2 separate regions of the Homo sapiens genome follow, and region 1 is linked to region 2. Evidence: promoter capture Hi-C in 16 types of primary human blood cells and fetal thymus (Javierre and others, 2016). All regions are on one chromosome and are shown on one strand. The core of a region is centred on a gene start or on the middle of the fragment in contact, and the rest is flanking DNA. Distances in the headings are between cores, read along the strand shown. Region 1 overlaps ABCA3 (ATP binding cassette subfamily A member 3). Region 2 holds the start of NTN3 (netrin 3).

What was found. Contacts are between HindIII fragments. The CHiCAGO score rates a contact against its expected background, and 5 or more counts as called.
Region 1: a contact is called between a fragment that was not itself captured here and the fragment with the promoter of NTN3 in region 2, in 1 of 17 cell types (endothelial precursors). The highest score is 5.3, in endothelial precursors.

Annotation. Positions count from the first base shown.
Region 1 is chr16:2,289,325-2,295,965 of GRCh38, reverse strand. It overlaps ABCA3 (ATP binding cassette subfamily A member 3), which reads left to right. Exons shown (of 33, transcript NM_001089.3): 18 at 226-376; 19 at 3,728-3,826; 20 at 6,346-6,532. Among named protein-coding and RNA genes, the nearest start is that of MIR4717, 18 kb to the right of the region's middle. The HindIII fragment of the contact is 8,617 bases long and covers 1-5,591 here.
Region 2 is chr16:2,468,010-2,474,702 of GRCh38, reverse strand. It overlaps NTN3 (netrin 3), which reads right to left and starts at 3,406. Exons shown (of 6, transcript NM_006181.3): 1 at 2,074-3,406; 2 at 1,814-2,002; 3 at 1,569-1,718; 4 at 1,385-1,435; 5 at 1,200-1,274; 6 at 558-947. The coding sequence starts at 3,001. The coding sequence ends at 598. It overlaps TEDC2-AS1 (TEDC2 antisense RNA 1), which reads left to right and starts at 6,490. Exons shown (of 1, transcript NR_135198.1): 1 at 6,490-6,693. RefSeq lists silencers at 365-634, 695-754, 825-974, 3,129-3,268, 6,532-6,581 and 1 more and enhancers at 5,202-5,281, 5,442-5,581, 5,541-6,084. The HindIII fragment of the contact is 14,643 bases long and covers 1-5,097 here.

The DNA.
Region 1 (6,641 bases), core at 34-2,533, 180 kb after region 2:
AGCACCCTAGATCCCCAGCAGCTCTTCCCAGCAGGAGCGGGAGGTGACACCCTTGGGACAGCACAGGGAGCTCCAAGACACATTCATTCTGCTTCAGCTGCCCACCTCCGGTTCTCTAGCCTCCTTCCCACCAGCTTGCCTGGTGTGAGCCCTAGAGACCCCGGGGTGGGCATGAAGAGACCTGGGGGATCAGCCAAAGATCTCACACGTGGCCCTGTATTCCAGGTGCCGGCTATCACATGACGCTGGTGAAGGAGCCGCACTGCAACCCGGAAGACATCTCCCAGCTGGTCCACCACCACGTGCCCAACGCCACGCTGGAGAGCAGCGCTGGGGCCGAGCTGTCTTTCATCCTTCCCAGAGAGAGCACGCACAGGTACGCCTCCCAGGGAGGGCACGCACAGGTATACATCCAAGATGGGATCCCCATGGGCCATGAGGGCTTTGTGCTCAGAGGCACCTGCTCTGCCCCTCTCTGGCCTGGCCAGTCGGCACTCTTAGACCCTCAGCCTGGGCACCATCAGCCCAGATGAATCTGCTTGGCTGGGTCCTAGGTGCCAGGCCTCCTAGCAAGGAGAAACATAATTAGGACCTGAAAAGGAGAAGCACGTATCTGACTCACCAAAAGGGTGCTCAGCGCTGATGCAGGGCTCACACTCCCCCTTCTGACACCAGGCTCAACACGTGCTGCGGCTGCACTCAGAACTACTCGTGAAACCGAGTCTGTATTTGTATGTGGGTGGTGAATTTGGTCTCAGTGTCAGAGCTGGAGATGTTACCACCTGCTCATCACTGTCTCACACACACGGCAGAACCAGCAAGGGGAGGGAAGCCAGTGTTCCATGACACTATCTATCAGTCTGGATATTATCTGGATAATATCAGTTTATTGCACTTTTCTCCAGTTTGTTGTTTGATTTTGTCAGATTTTTTTCCATTTTACATTTATTTATTTTATTTGTTATTTATTTATTATTTGTTTTGAGATGGAGCCTCACTCTGCTGCCCAGTCCAGAGTGCAGTGGCACAATCTCAGCTCACTGCAACCTCTGCCTCCCAGGTTCAAGCAATTCTCCTGCCTCAGCCTCCCAAGTAGCTGGGATTACAGGCGTGCACCACCACACCCGGCTAATTTTTGTATTTTTAGTAGAGATGGGGTTTTACCATGTTGTCCAGGCTGGTCTCAAACTCCTGACCTCAGGTGATCCACCCACCTCGGCCTCCCAAAGTGCTAAGATGTCAGGCATGAGCCACCATGCCTGGCCACATTTGTTTATTTTAAAAACAAGGTCTTGCTCTGTCACCCAGGCTGGAGTGCAGTGGTGCAATCACAACTCACTGCAGCCTTGAATTCCTGGGCTCGTGATCTCCCACCTCAGCCTCCCGAATAGTTGGGACTACAGGTGTGTATCAACATGTCCGGCTAGTTTTTTTATTTTTTTTGTAGAGATGGGGTCTTGTTATGTTGCCCAAGCTGGTCTTGAACTCCTGGGCTTAAGTGATCCTTCCGCCTCAGCCTCCCAAAGTTCTGGGATTCCAGGTGTGAGCCACTGCACCCGGCCTAGATTTTGTACTTAATGTAGCAACATCCTTTCTCTTGTGACTTCTTCTATTAATTTTATTCTTAGAAAGTGTTTCGCAGCTGTGCATAGTGGCGCACGCCTGTAATCCCAGCACTTTGGGAGGCCAAGGCGGGCGGACCATGAGGTCAGGAGATCGAGACCATCCTGGCCAACACGGTGAAACCTCGTCTCTACTAAAAAAAAAAAAAAATACAAAAATTAGCCGGGCGTGGTGGTGGGTGCCTGTAATCCCAGCTACTCAGGAGGCTGAGGCAGGAGAATCACTGAACCCAGGAGCAGAGGTTGCAGTGAGCCGAAATCACACCCCTGCACCCCTGCACCCCTGGATTCCAGCCTGGGTGACAGAGGGAGACTCCATCTCAAAAAAAAAAAAAGAAAGAAAAAACCAGGGAATCAAACCATATGAACCTCACTTTTAGCCAGGCATGGTTGCTCATGCCTGTAATCCCAACACTTTCAGAAGCCAAGGCAGAAGGAGAAGGAGATCAGCTTGGGCGACATAGTGAGACCCCATCTCTACAAAAAAATTAAAAATTAGCCACATGGCCAGGCACGGTGGCTCACACCTGTAATCCCAGCACTTGGAGGCCGAAGCGGGTGGATCACGAGGTCAGGAGATCGAGACCATCCTGGCTAACATGGTGAAACCCCATCTCTACTAAAAATACAAAAACAAAATTAGCCGGGCGTGGTGGCGGGCACCTGTAGTCCCAGCTACTCGGGAGGCTGAGGCAAGAGAATGGCATGAAGCCGGGAGGCAGATCTTGCAGTGAGCCAAGATCGCGCCACCGCACTCCAGCCTGGGTGACAGAGCAAGACTCAGTCTCAAAAAAAAAAAAAAAACTTAGCCACGTGTAGTTGTGCACACCTGTAGCCCCAGACACTTGGGAGGCTGAGGTGAGAGGATTGCTTGAGCCCGGGAGGTCAAGGCTTCAGTGAGCCGAGATTATACCACTGCACTCCAGCCTGAGTGACAGACCAAGACCCTGTCTCCAAAAAAAAAAAAAAAAAAAAAGGCATTTTGGCCAGGCACGGTAGCTTGGTAGCTCATTGCCTGTAATCCCAGCACTTTGGGAGGTCAGGGCAGGTGGATCACAGGGTCAGGAGATCAAGACCATCCTGGCTAACACGGTGAAACCCCATCTCTACTAAAAATACAAAAAATTAGCTGGGTGTGGTGGCGGGCGCCTATAGTCCCAGCTACTCTGGAGGTTGAGGCAGGAGAATGCCATGAACCTGGGAGGCGGAGCTTGCAGTGAGCCGAGACTGTGCCACTGCACTGCAGCCTGGGTGACAGAGCAAAACTCCATCTAAAGAAAAAAAGAAAAAAAAAGGTATTTCAAGGAATTAACCTCCTGTGGCCCCTGCCCCATTCTATAGGGGGATTAGGGGGGTGATTCATTTTAGTTTAGTTTAGTTTAGTTTTTGGAGACGGAGTCTTGCTCTGTTGCCCGGGCTGGAGTCCAGTGGTGCGATCTCAGCTCACCGCAACCTCCGCCTCCCGGGTTCAAGCAATTCTCCTGCCTCAGCCTCCCGAGTAGCTGGGATTACAGGCACAAGCCGCCATGACTGGGTAGTTTTTGTTGTTGTTGTTGTTTGTTGTTTTGTTTTGTTTTATTTATTTTAGTAGAGACAGAGTTTCACCGTGTTGCTCAGGCTGGTCTCGAACTCCTGAGTTCAGGCAATTCGCCCACCTCGGCCTCCCAAAGTGCTAGGATTACAGGTGTGAGATACTGCACCTGGCCTCCTTATTTTTTTAATTTTATTTATTTATTTATTTTTTTGAGACAGAGTTTCACTCTGCCACCCAGGCTGGAGTGCAGTAGCGCAATCTCGGTTCACTGCAGCCTCCACCTCCTGGGTTCAAGTGTTCTCCTGCCTCTGCCTTCTGAGTAGCTGGGACTACAGGCACCTGCTACCACACGTGGCTAATTTTTTATGTTTTTAATAGCGACAGGTTTCACCATGTTGACTAGACTGGTATCGAACTCCTGATCTCAGGTGATCCGCCCGCCTTGGCGTCCCAAAGTGCTGGGGTTACAGGTGTGAGGCACTGTGCCTGGCCGAGGGGGGGTGATGCTTTAGGAACAAATTATCTAGAAAGTCACTGAGAAGTGACTCATAATGCTGGGTCTGTTTTTCAGGTTTGAAGGTCTCTTTGCTAAACTGGAGAAGAAGCAGAAAGAGCTGGGCATTGCCAGCTTTGGGGCATCCATCACCACCATGGAGGAAGTCTTCCTTCGGTCAGTAAATGCGCATTTCCGTCCACCTAGGACTGGGCTCCGTGCTGCAGAGGACTTTTTTTTTTTGAGATGGAGTTTCACTCTAGTTGCCCAGGCTGGAGTGCAGTGGTGCGATCTCGGCTCACCGCAACCTCCGCCTCCTGGGTTCAAGAGATTCTCCTGCCTCAGCCTCCCGAGTAGCTGGGATTACAGGCATGTGCCACCACACCCAGCTAATTTTGTATTTTTAGTAGAGATGGGTTTTCTCCATGTTGGTCAGGCTGGTCTCAAACTCCTGACCTCAGGTGATCCGCCCACCTTGGCCTCCCAAAGTGCTGGTATTACAGGCGTGAGGCACCGTGCTCAGCCGAGGACTTCTAAAAAGTGCAGTGATAAACAGTCACCTCGGTTATGATCTCAAATGCCCACGTGAGGCTGGAGGAACAGCCTGGGGTGGGGCGGGCAGTGGCCGCCGTCAGAGCCCCAAGTGCAGATTGTGACTGTCAGCAACATTGGTGTGCGTGGGAAACGGCGGCACACGTGAGGGGCCTGCACTGCCTTGGGGTCCCTCCTAGACCCGCCACGGGTCTAGCTGGCACACGGCGTCAGAGGCGTGCCCAGCTCTTCTTGGGCTTAGATCGTCCTTGGGAGATACCTGTGTCGTTAATGAAGATGGGAACTATCTCATCCAGACCCTCAGAACTGCATGGGGGCTGGGCGTGGTGGCTCACGCCTGTCATCCCAGCACTTTGGGAGGCCGAGGCAGGCGATCACTTGAGCCAAGGAGTTTGAGACTAGCCTGGTCAACATGGTGAAATCCCATCTCTTTTTTTTTGAGACAGAGTCTCACTCTGTCTCCCAGGCTGGAGTGCAGTGGTGCAATCTCAGCTCACTGCAACCTCTGCCTCCCAGATTCAAGCGATTCTCCTGCCTCAGCCTCAGTAGCTGGGACTGCAGGCGCACGTCATTACGCCCAGCTAGTTTTTTTGTATTTTTAACAGAGATGGGGTTTTGCCATGCTGGTCTGGAACTCCTGACCTCAGGTGACCCACCTGAAGATCTGTGCTGGGATTACAGGCGTGAGCCACCACCCCCAGCCACCATCTCTACTAAAACTACAAAAATTAGCCGGGCATGGTGGCACACACCTGTAATCTCAGCTACTTGGGAGGCTGAGGCAGGAGAATCAATTGAACCTGGGAAGTGGAGGTTGCAGTGAGCTGAGATTGTGCCACTGCACTCCACCCTGGGGGACAGAGCAAAACCCTGTGTCAAAAGAAAAAGAAAAAAACGTGAGATAGGTTTTCCTCCTTAGGGAGCCCACAGCCTAGAGGAGGCGACAGAATAGGTGATCATACATGCAGGACATGGTGGTGCATGCTCTGGGGACACCTGTGCAGGGGACCATGTGTCCAGGAACAGACCCAGGGAAAAAGGCCAGGCAAGGCGGCGGAGGGAGGGAGGGACTGCCCGCTGACCTGTGTCCCACACAGGACCGAGCACTGACTGACTGATTCTGTGAATCCTGGTTGAAGGAAGGAAGGAAGCATGAACATAACAGAAAGAAACCACGGGCTGGCCTGGAGTCAGCCGGCTCTGAGGGTAGAACCCGGGTTGATCCTGCTGCGTCTCAGCAGCCACAGGGCCTCTTGTCTCTCAAGGTCTCAGGCCTCTCTGGCCCCATCTCATACTCACCACACGGCCCACCTGTGACTCAGCTCCAGGCCCCACACCTGACCCTGGCCTCTCTGAGCTCCTGGTCTCAAGAGAAAAATAATCAGAAGCTTTTCCTGGTTTGTCTAGGACCTGGGGAGAGCTAGCCAGGCTGGTAAGCGCCCACCGGAGCTCAGACCATGGGCAGGAAGGCTTTTAATCAGAGGGAATACTGACGAGATGGCAACACTTGGTGTCTCTGAGCAGATCATGAAAGATGAGTGGGACTGGGAGAATCCAGTGAGGGAGAAGGGCTCTGCCAAGGGCCAGAGGAGCAGGTACTTAGGCCTCACGGCAGCCTGCACACAGGAGCAAGAAGCAGGCAGACAGGGCTCACACGGGCTCCAAGTGTGGCCTGACAATGTTGCTAAGCCAGCCGGGGGGTGCCTCCTGCCTGCTGCAGCCTCAGTTGTGTTTCCTAATCGGCGGGGAGCTCTAGGAAGGGGTGTGTGTGTGTGTGTGTGTGTGTGTGTGTGTGTGTGTGTGATGTAATTCACATAATATTAAAAAATCACCTCCTCTGCCAGCCTTGGTGGTTCATGCCTGTAATCCCAGCACTTTGAGAGGCCAAGGTGGGTGGATCACTTGAGGTCAGGAGTTCCAGATCAGCCTGGCCAACATGGTGAAACCCTATGTCTACTAAAAATACAAAAATTAGCTGTGCATGGTGGCCGGAGACACTGATGAGTGAGGAAACACATAAGCAGATGCATGAGCAAGCCAAGGACTGCGGCAACACTGCTCCCCTCAGTGCCTCTAACCATAGTCCCTCCCTCCACCCACCCGGGGAGCTGGGTCCTGACCGGTCCCTGTGTGTATCGGCACAGGGTCGGGAAGCTGGTGGACAGCAGTATGGACATCCAGGCCATCCAGCTCCCTGCCCTGCAGTACCAGCACGAGAGGCGCGCCAGCGACTGGGCTGTGGACAGCAACCTCTGTGGGGCCATGGACCCCTCCGACGGCATTGGAGCCCTCATCGAGGAGGAGCGCACCGCTGTCAAGCTCAACACTGGGGTGAGTGCCCAGGTGGGTGGGCGGGTGGCGGGGGAAGGGCGAGCAGCCCCCAAACGCCTCATGTAAGCCCATGCAGAGGAGAGTCTGCGAGGGCGCAAACAGGGTCCGG
Region 2 (6,693 bases), core at 2,157-4,656:
GACGGAGCCGGCAGACGGGGACACAGGCGGCCAAGAAAGTTACGGGACCCGGCAGCAGACGCCGCGGGGCGCCCGGACGCGGACGCCCAGCCCGCAGGGGCCAAGGCCGCCGCCCTCGTGGGGCTGCAGGAGGCAGGGGACGCCCTGTCCCCCCATGGGGGTCCAAGGCGCCTGCGGTGGCCACAGTCTTTGGGGAGGTCAGTGCGCTCCCTGGCGGGTCGCCGCACAGGTGGGGGTGCATCACAGCGGCCCCGGGGATGATCTGAGATCCCCGAGAGGGCCCGGCATCACGAAGGATTCACAGCCTTCCGGGTATCCCAGTGCCCCTGGGACAGGGCCGACAGCCAGAGGGCGGGAGACCATGGGGTCCTCCGGGTGTGCCATATCATCTGCCTCTGTGCGGGGCGGGCTGTCGCTGCGCCGGTCACATCCCCCCAGGGCCAGACGGGAGGTACCGAGGGAGCTGCCGGCGGGGACGGGGCGGCGGCCCAGGTGGCGACACGCGCGACGCGAGCAAGGACTCCTTGGCAGGCGAAGGCACAGGGTGAACGTGCGCCTAGATGTGGGAGCAGCGGCCGCCCTGCCCAGCCGGCGGGCTCAGGCGGCGCTGCAGCGCCCCCGCCGTTCGCGTCGCTGCAGCCTCCGCAGGCGCCGCGTCCACGCGTCCCTCCAGGGTAGCACGAGGCTTCCGCGGGCGGCGATGAGCCCGGGCCCCCGGCCCCCCGCGCCCCCAGCCGCGGCTCCAGGCCCGCCCCCCAGCAGGAGGTAGCGGCGGCCGGGGAGCAGGCGCGGGCAGCCGCAGGCCGCATCCCCGGCGGGCACCCACAGCGCGCTACTCCCGCGCCGCGCGCGCTCCTCTCCGCTCCGGAACACGGCGAGCACCGCCACCGGGAAGCGTGTCCACGCGCCGCGCGCCTCGCCGCGCGCACCCACCGCCACCTGCACCGCTGCGGGGAGAGCGAGAGGGGGCGGGGTCAGGAAGGGGCGGCCTGCCCGCGGTAGGGGGAGGCACGGGGAGGACACCAGGAGGGCAGTGGGGGCTGAAGGGGCGGGGTCGCTGCCCGTGGAGGACCTGAGGGATGAGGATGGGCCTTGGGGCCCAGCAAGGGTCAAGGCGTTCCAAGGGGAAGCTGGCGGAGGAGGGAAGGTAGGGAGAGGAGGAAGGTGGGAAGGTCCGCGGGAGGCCTGAGGGCACCTACCATAGTCCTTCTTGCAGAACTTCTTTAGGCTGATGCGGTAGCTGCCACGGGCAGGTTTGCAGTGCGAGTCACAGTCTGGGTAGAAGGTGGGAGGCTGGCACAGACTCCCTTTCCCCACCCTCTCCTCCCAGAGCCCCCTCCCCCAAAGTCATGCCAGTCTGGGGCCCTGTCCTGTGTCCACTCACCCTGGGGCTGCACAGGGCTGCTGTCCTCAGTGGGTCCAGGGATAGGGGTCTCTGCAGAGAGGGAGGGAGAATGGCCTGCGATGGAGGGGCAGAGAGATCTGCAGGGCTCGGGGAATAGACGGGACAACAGCAGGGAGCTGGGGTGGCCTTGGCTTGGTGGCTGAGGCGGGGCAGGGTCACTCACTAACACAGGGCGCCACTGGGGAGCGGCTTTGCTGGAAGCCAGGCGCGCAGCGGTTGCAGGTGAGGCCAGTGACGCCATCCTTGCAGGGACACTGGCCTGTGGTCTGGTTGCAGGTCTTGCCAGCAGCACCAACCGGGTGACAGTCGCAGGCTGAGGACAGAGGTGGGAAGGGCCTGGTCAGAAGCCTGTCTGGGGATCTGGGAAGTCAGAGGGTGAGGGCCTGCAGGTGGCCGGTGGTGGCTCACCCCTGCAAGCCCGACGGTCACTCAGGGCACGGCCAGGGTCTCGATAGAAGCCCTCCCGGCAGTAGTGGCAGTGGCGGCCGGCGGTGTTGTGCCGGCAGTTGAGACAGACACCCCCGCTGCGGCGGCCGGACAGTCGGTACAGCTCCATGTTGAAGCGGCAGCGGCGGGCATGGCCGTTGCAGGAGCAAGCTGCAGGGAGGGATGGGTCAGGGGCAGGCTGGTTGTGTCCAAGGTCCCCAGGCCACCCTCCAAGGCCTCACCGAGGCAGGCGTGGGATTCCCGGGCAGTGGCCCGCTGCCATGGCCTGTCGCAGTAGAAGGGCTTGCAGCGGCCGCAGTCAGGGCCCTCGGTGCCATGCCGACAGTCGCAGATCAGGTGGCCCTGTGTGTCCAGCAGGCACCGTGAGGCATGTCCATTGCACTTGCAGCGCCCGCCCACCTGGAGGTCGGTGGCTGCGTAGGAGTAAGGGACGACGGCCTCCATGTCCCTGGGGTCACCTGCCGTGCTAGGCCTTGTGAGCACTACACGGACGTCGGTGGCGGTCACCCAGTCTTGGAGCACTGGGCTGCTGTCCAGGTCCAGGCCTGGGGGGCTGCTGTCCTGCATGCTGAAGGCCAGAAGGCCGCTGCCATCAGGCTGGGCCAGGGGTGCGGGGAAGCACAGGGCCTCAGGCCCTGGGCCAGCTGGGCCATTGGCAGGGGCAGGCAGACGGCCATAGTCCAGGTCACAGTGGGAGGAGAAGAAGCCCAGCGGGGCCCAGCTGCGGCCATGGTCCTGAGACTTGAGCAGGGCCACGGAGGCTGGGGGAGCTGAGCAGAAGCGCAGGCTCACGAAGACCAGCTCAAAAGCCTTGCCCAGGGGCACCGTGAGAGTCACGTTGAGGGGCGCCCGAGGCAGGGACTCCGAGCGCCAGCACAGAGGGCTGGCCGTGCCCCCTGGGGAAGTAAGGAGGGCGGGGGAGTGTGCCCGTCGCGGGTCGGAGGCGTCGCAGGCCCGAGTGGCCGGCCGCCCGCACGTGCTGGAAGCCAGCACCTCGCGGCCCAGGGCGGCGTTCACCAGTCCTGGCACGCAGCCGCGGGGCGCACCCCCCTCATCGTGGCAGGGGTCGGCGGGCGCCGGCGGCCCAGGACTCAGGGCGGCGAAGAGCGTGCCTGCCGTCAGCAGCAGCCCCCAGGGCCAGCCAGGCATGGCCGGAGCCGCTGCGGGTCAGCCAGTGGCCGGGCCCCAAGACGCTGCCCTTGGGGAAAAGAAGCCCTCTCCGCGGCTCTGCCCACCAGGCCCGCAATGCCGAGGAACAGGGCCCCCGGGCGGCCCCAGCCCGGCCCAGAGGTGGGAGCAGCGGCGGGCACGCCCCGGGCCCAGCACAGCAGCGGGGATGTTGGCGCGTCCTCCCGCTGGGCCTAGAGCGATGACAGGCGTCGCCCCCGCTCCCGGTGCCTCCGCCCGCGGAGGCCCCACCCGCCGCTCGCACTCACCCACCGAGGGCCGGGCGGAGCAGGTCTCCCGGCCTCCCGGGAAGGGCCGTGGGCGGGCGGGGCCTGCGGTGCACGGGCCGCCGCCTCCTCCCGGCTGCAGCGAGGGCGGACGAGCTGTGCCAGGAGGGGGTGGGGGGCGCAGCAGGCGCAAGCCCGGGCCCAGCCGGGGGCGGGGCTGCTCGGGTCGGGAAGGAGGCAGGGGAGGGGAGGGGGCCTCATCGCAGAGCTGGAATCAGAAGCAGATTCAGACGCGGGCTGGGCCAGCGGGGAAGGGGGCTGGGAGGCCCGGGAGCCAGGGGAGGGGCCGGGGAGCCAGGAATGCGCTGGCGGGAGGGGTCTGGAGGGGGGCAGCTCAGCCTTCGCAGCCCGTGGGGGACCACCCAGCAGGGTCCTGGGCCCACAGCCAGGTCTTTACTGCTCCTGGGGCTGTGCCACGTGCTGGACGGGGGTCTGGGTCGCCTCCTCCCTGAAGACCATCAGGCAGGCAAGGCCCCGGGTCTGACAGCAGAGGCCCTGGATGTTCCCCAGGTAGGGAAGCCAAGTAACCACCAGTTGAAGGGTCATCCCCAAAGCAGCATCTACTCGAGTAGAAGGAACCCAGGATTCGGTCAGGTCTAATTTTGAATCCAACTGCCCCATTTCTGGCTGCATGTCTTGGGCTCCTGTTTCCTCACCTGCCAGATGCCTGTTACTCAGCACGCGCTCTGAAGCTGTTGGATTTGATGAGTCTCAAGTGGCATCAGGCCCAAGTCGAGAGCTGCACAAATTGGAGTGTCTCCTGCCCATGTTGAGGAAGGGGGGCACCCCCATGGGCCTGAGCTGGGCTAAGACATGAGGCCAGCATCCCCTGCACCAGGCCAGATTCTGATCCCAAAGCTCCCTGGGTCTGCAAGTTTCTAGGGGCACCTCTGCCACGGGCCCAGCTGGCAGGGAGGACATGGAAGCTGGAGGGTGGGATGGGGTGGCTTCTTGGGGTTCGGGGGCTTGGTTAGCTGTTGAGGACCCCTCTGCAGGGGCAGGGAGTAGGGTTTAATCATGGGAAGGGGCTGGTCGCAACCCGGAGCCCACTGCCCTACGTCACAGCACGTTTGGGCAGGGAAACTGAGGCAGAAGCCCAGCTGGGTGGCCTGGGGACTAGCTGGGGATGGGGTAGCTGTGCCTGGGAGCGACACCACCAAAGAGGGTCCAGGAACAGCTCTGGTCAGAGAAACCTCCTCCCCTCCGACTTTCAGGTCCTTGACAGAGGAGGCCAAGCATCCCAGGGAGGGGCAGGGAACAAGTTCCGTGCAGGGCCAGCATCGAGGCCTGAATGCCCCGTTTCAGATGGGAGGCCAGGCCTGCAGCTGGTGGAGGAGGCCACGTGGGTGCTACCCTGGACACGACCAGAGATGAGCAAGGACCAGGAGGAAGAGAATGGAGAGGTAGACGCATCCCGCTGTTGGGGAGAGGAGGGGCAGGAGGACACGGAAGCCTCCTAGGGGAAACTGAAGGACCAGAGGAGGGAGCAGGAGGGCCTGACCATGGAGGGGAGGAACGGGAAGACAGGGTGATAGGGCACCTGGCTTGGCTCCTGGAGCAACTGACACTGGCTGGTGGGCACCTTCTCCTTGCCACACATCTGCATGTGACAGCCACAGATGCACAGGGATGGGGGCACCGGAGGACTGAACAGAGAGGGCTAAGGGGCTCTCTCTCTGCCACAGGGCCCCTGCCCCTCAGCTTCCTGATAAAGAGAATGGGAATTGTGTCCTTTACAAGTTGAGGGACCTCAACCTGACGGGGCTCACGCTCCGCTCTGTGGGTCAAGCTTAGAACCTGAAACGTCCCAACCACCCTCTTCAAGGTCCTTCTGGCTCCCAACCCCCACCCCCCGACACCCCACCCTAAGGGTGGGAGGAACCCTGGGGGGACTATGGGGGCTGAGATCATCATTCTGGGACAGTGGAGAGAAAAGCCCAGGCCTGACAGAGGGGTCCCACTGGCCAGAGACAAGCCTCTGGGGAAACCCAAGCTGTCTCTGGACGTCAGGGCCACTGCCAGACTGGCTGCCAGCCAGGCTGCAAGAGGGACAGTGGCCAGCAGCCTCTTCCACCCTCATCAGAGGGGCTGGCTTTGTCTCCAGCTCAGCTTCCCTGTGAGCCAGGACTGGGGTCTGCAGAACGTCTGGTGGCTTCTGGGGTGGGGGAAAGTAGGTGCCTGGGGCTCAGCCCTGCCCCAATTGTTCATCTGGGTCAGCAGCAGCGGCGGGAGGCCGTGGGCCCAGAGGGCCATTGTACCGCCAGCTCCCCAGGGAGGAGGCCGCTGGTCACAGGGCCTCTCCCCAGGAACAGTCCTCTGCACACGCTACTCTGCCCCCACCCCCAGCCCTCACAGATGGTGTTTGGGAGTTAGGAAGGGCCTCCCCACAGCGCCCAAGCGGGACTTATTGCTCCCCAGGGACCCAGCCACCTGTCCCAGCCCCTGGCTGGGGCCTCTCCCACCTCCCACCTCTCCACTGGCCCTGCCCCCTCCTGGCACCTTCTGCAACAAAGAAGCTCCGCCTCCCCTCCCCCCACCTGCAACTCAGGCCGCAGTGCTTCGCCTCCCCCTCCCCACCCCACCCCTCACCCCTAGAGTGGCAGCTCCAGCTTTGGGGCACAGGCTGGGGAGAGGGCATAGATGGGCTGGACAGTCCTAGGCGGCAGGGAGCTGAGAGTCTTTCCTGTAAGATGCCCGTTGATCCAATAATTCCCTGCCCAGCCCAGAACCTGCTGTCTCCCCCCAGACGCCTGCAAGCCACCACATGTTCACCTATTGCACATTTATCGAGCGCCTATTATGCCTCGGGGGGTTTCCAACCGAGCTCCGAAGGCAGACAGCCCAGGAGCAGACACAGCGCCGGCTCCCAACGGCGGGTGGTGTGGCCGAGCCCGCGTCGCGCTGCCCTGCACCCAGCACCCTCGCGCCGGGTCGATCCCCCAGCCTCGCAGACCGCTGCCCAGCCAGGCCGCTCTGCGGTCGCGCCAGCTCTGCGCGCCAAGTCAAAAGCTGAAATGCGACGTTGGACGGAGGAGGGAAGAGAGGGAAAGCAGAGAGGGAGGGAGGGAAACGGCCGGTGGCCTTCTCTGCCCAAAGGGTTCCAGAAGAAACGATTTGGGGATGGGGTGTGGGGGGCGGCCTCTGCGACCACGCTTGGCACTGCGCCCGCCCGGCCGGGGCGAGGTTGGAGGGAGGGGCGGCCGGCTCGCGGTGACCTCGATGGGAGGGGGCCTCGCCCGCGGCTCAGGGCGCCCCCGGCTCCCTGCGCCCGGCCCTTCGCCTCCGCCGAGCGCGCCAGCACAGGAAGGCGGCGGTCAGAAGCCCCAGGCCCGCACTGAGCGCGGCCAGCGACGAGCCCTGGGCCAGGTCCAGGCGGGGTCCCCGCAG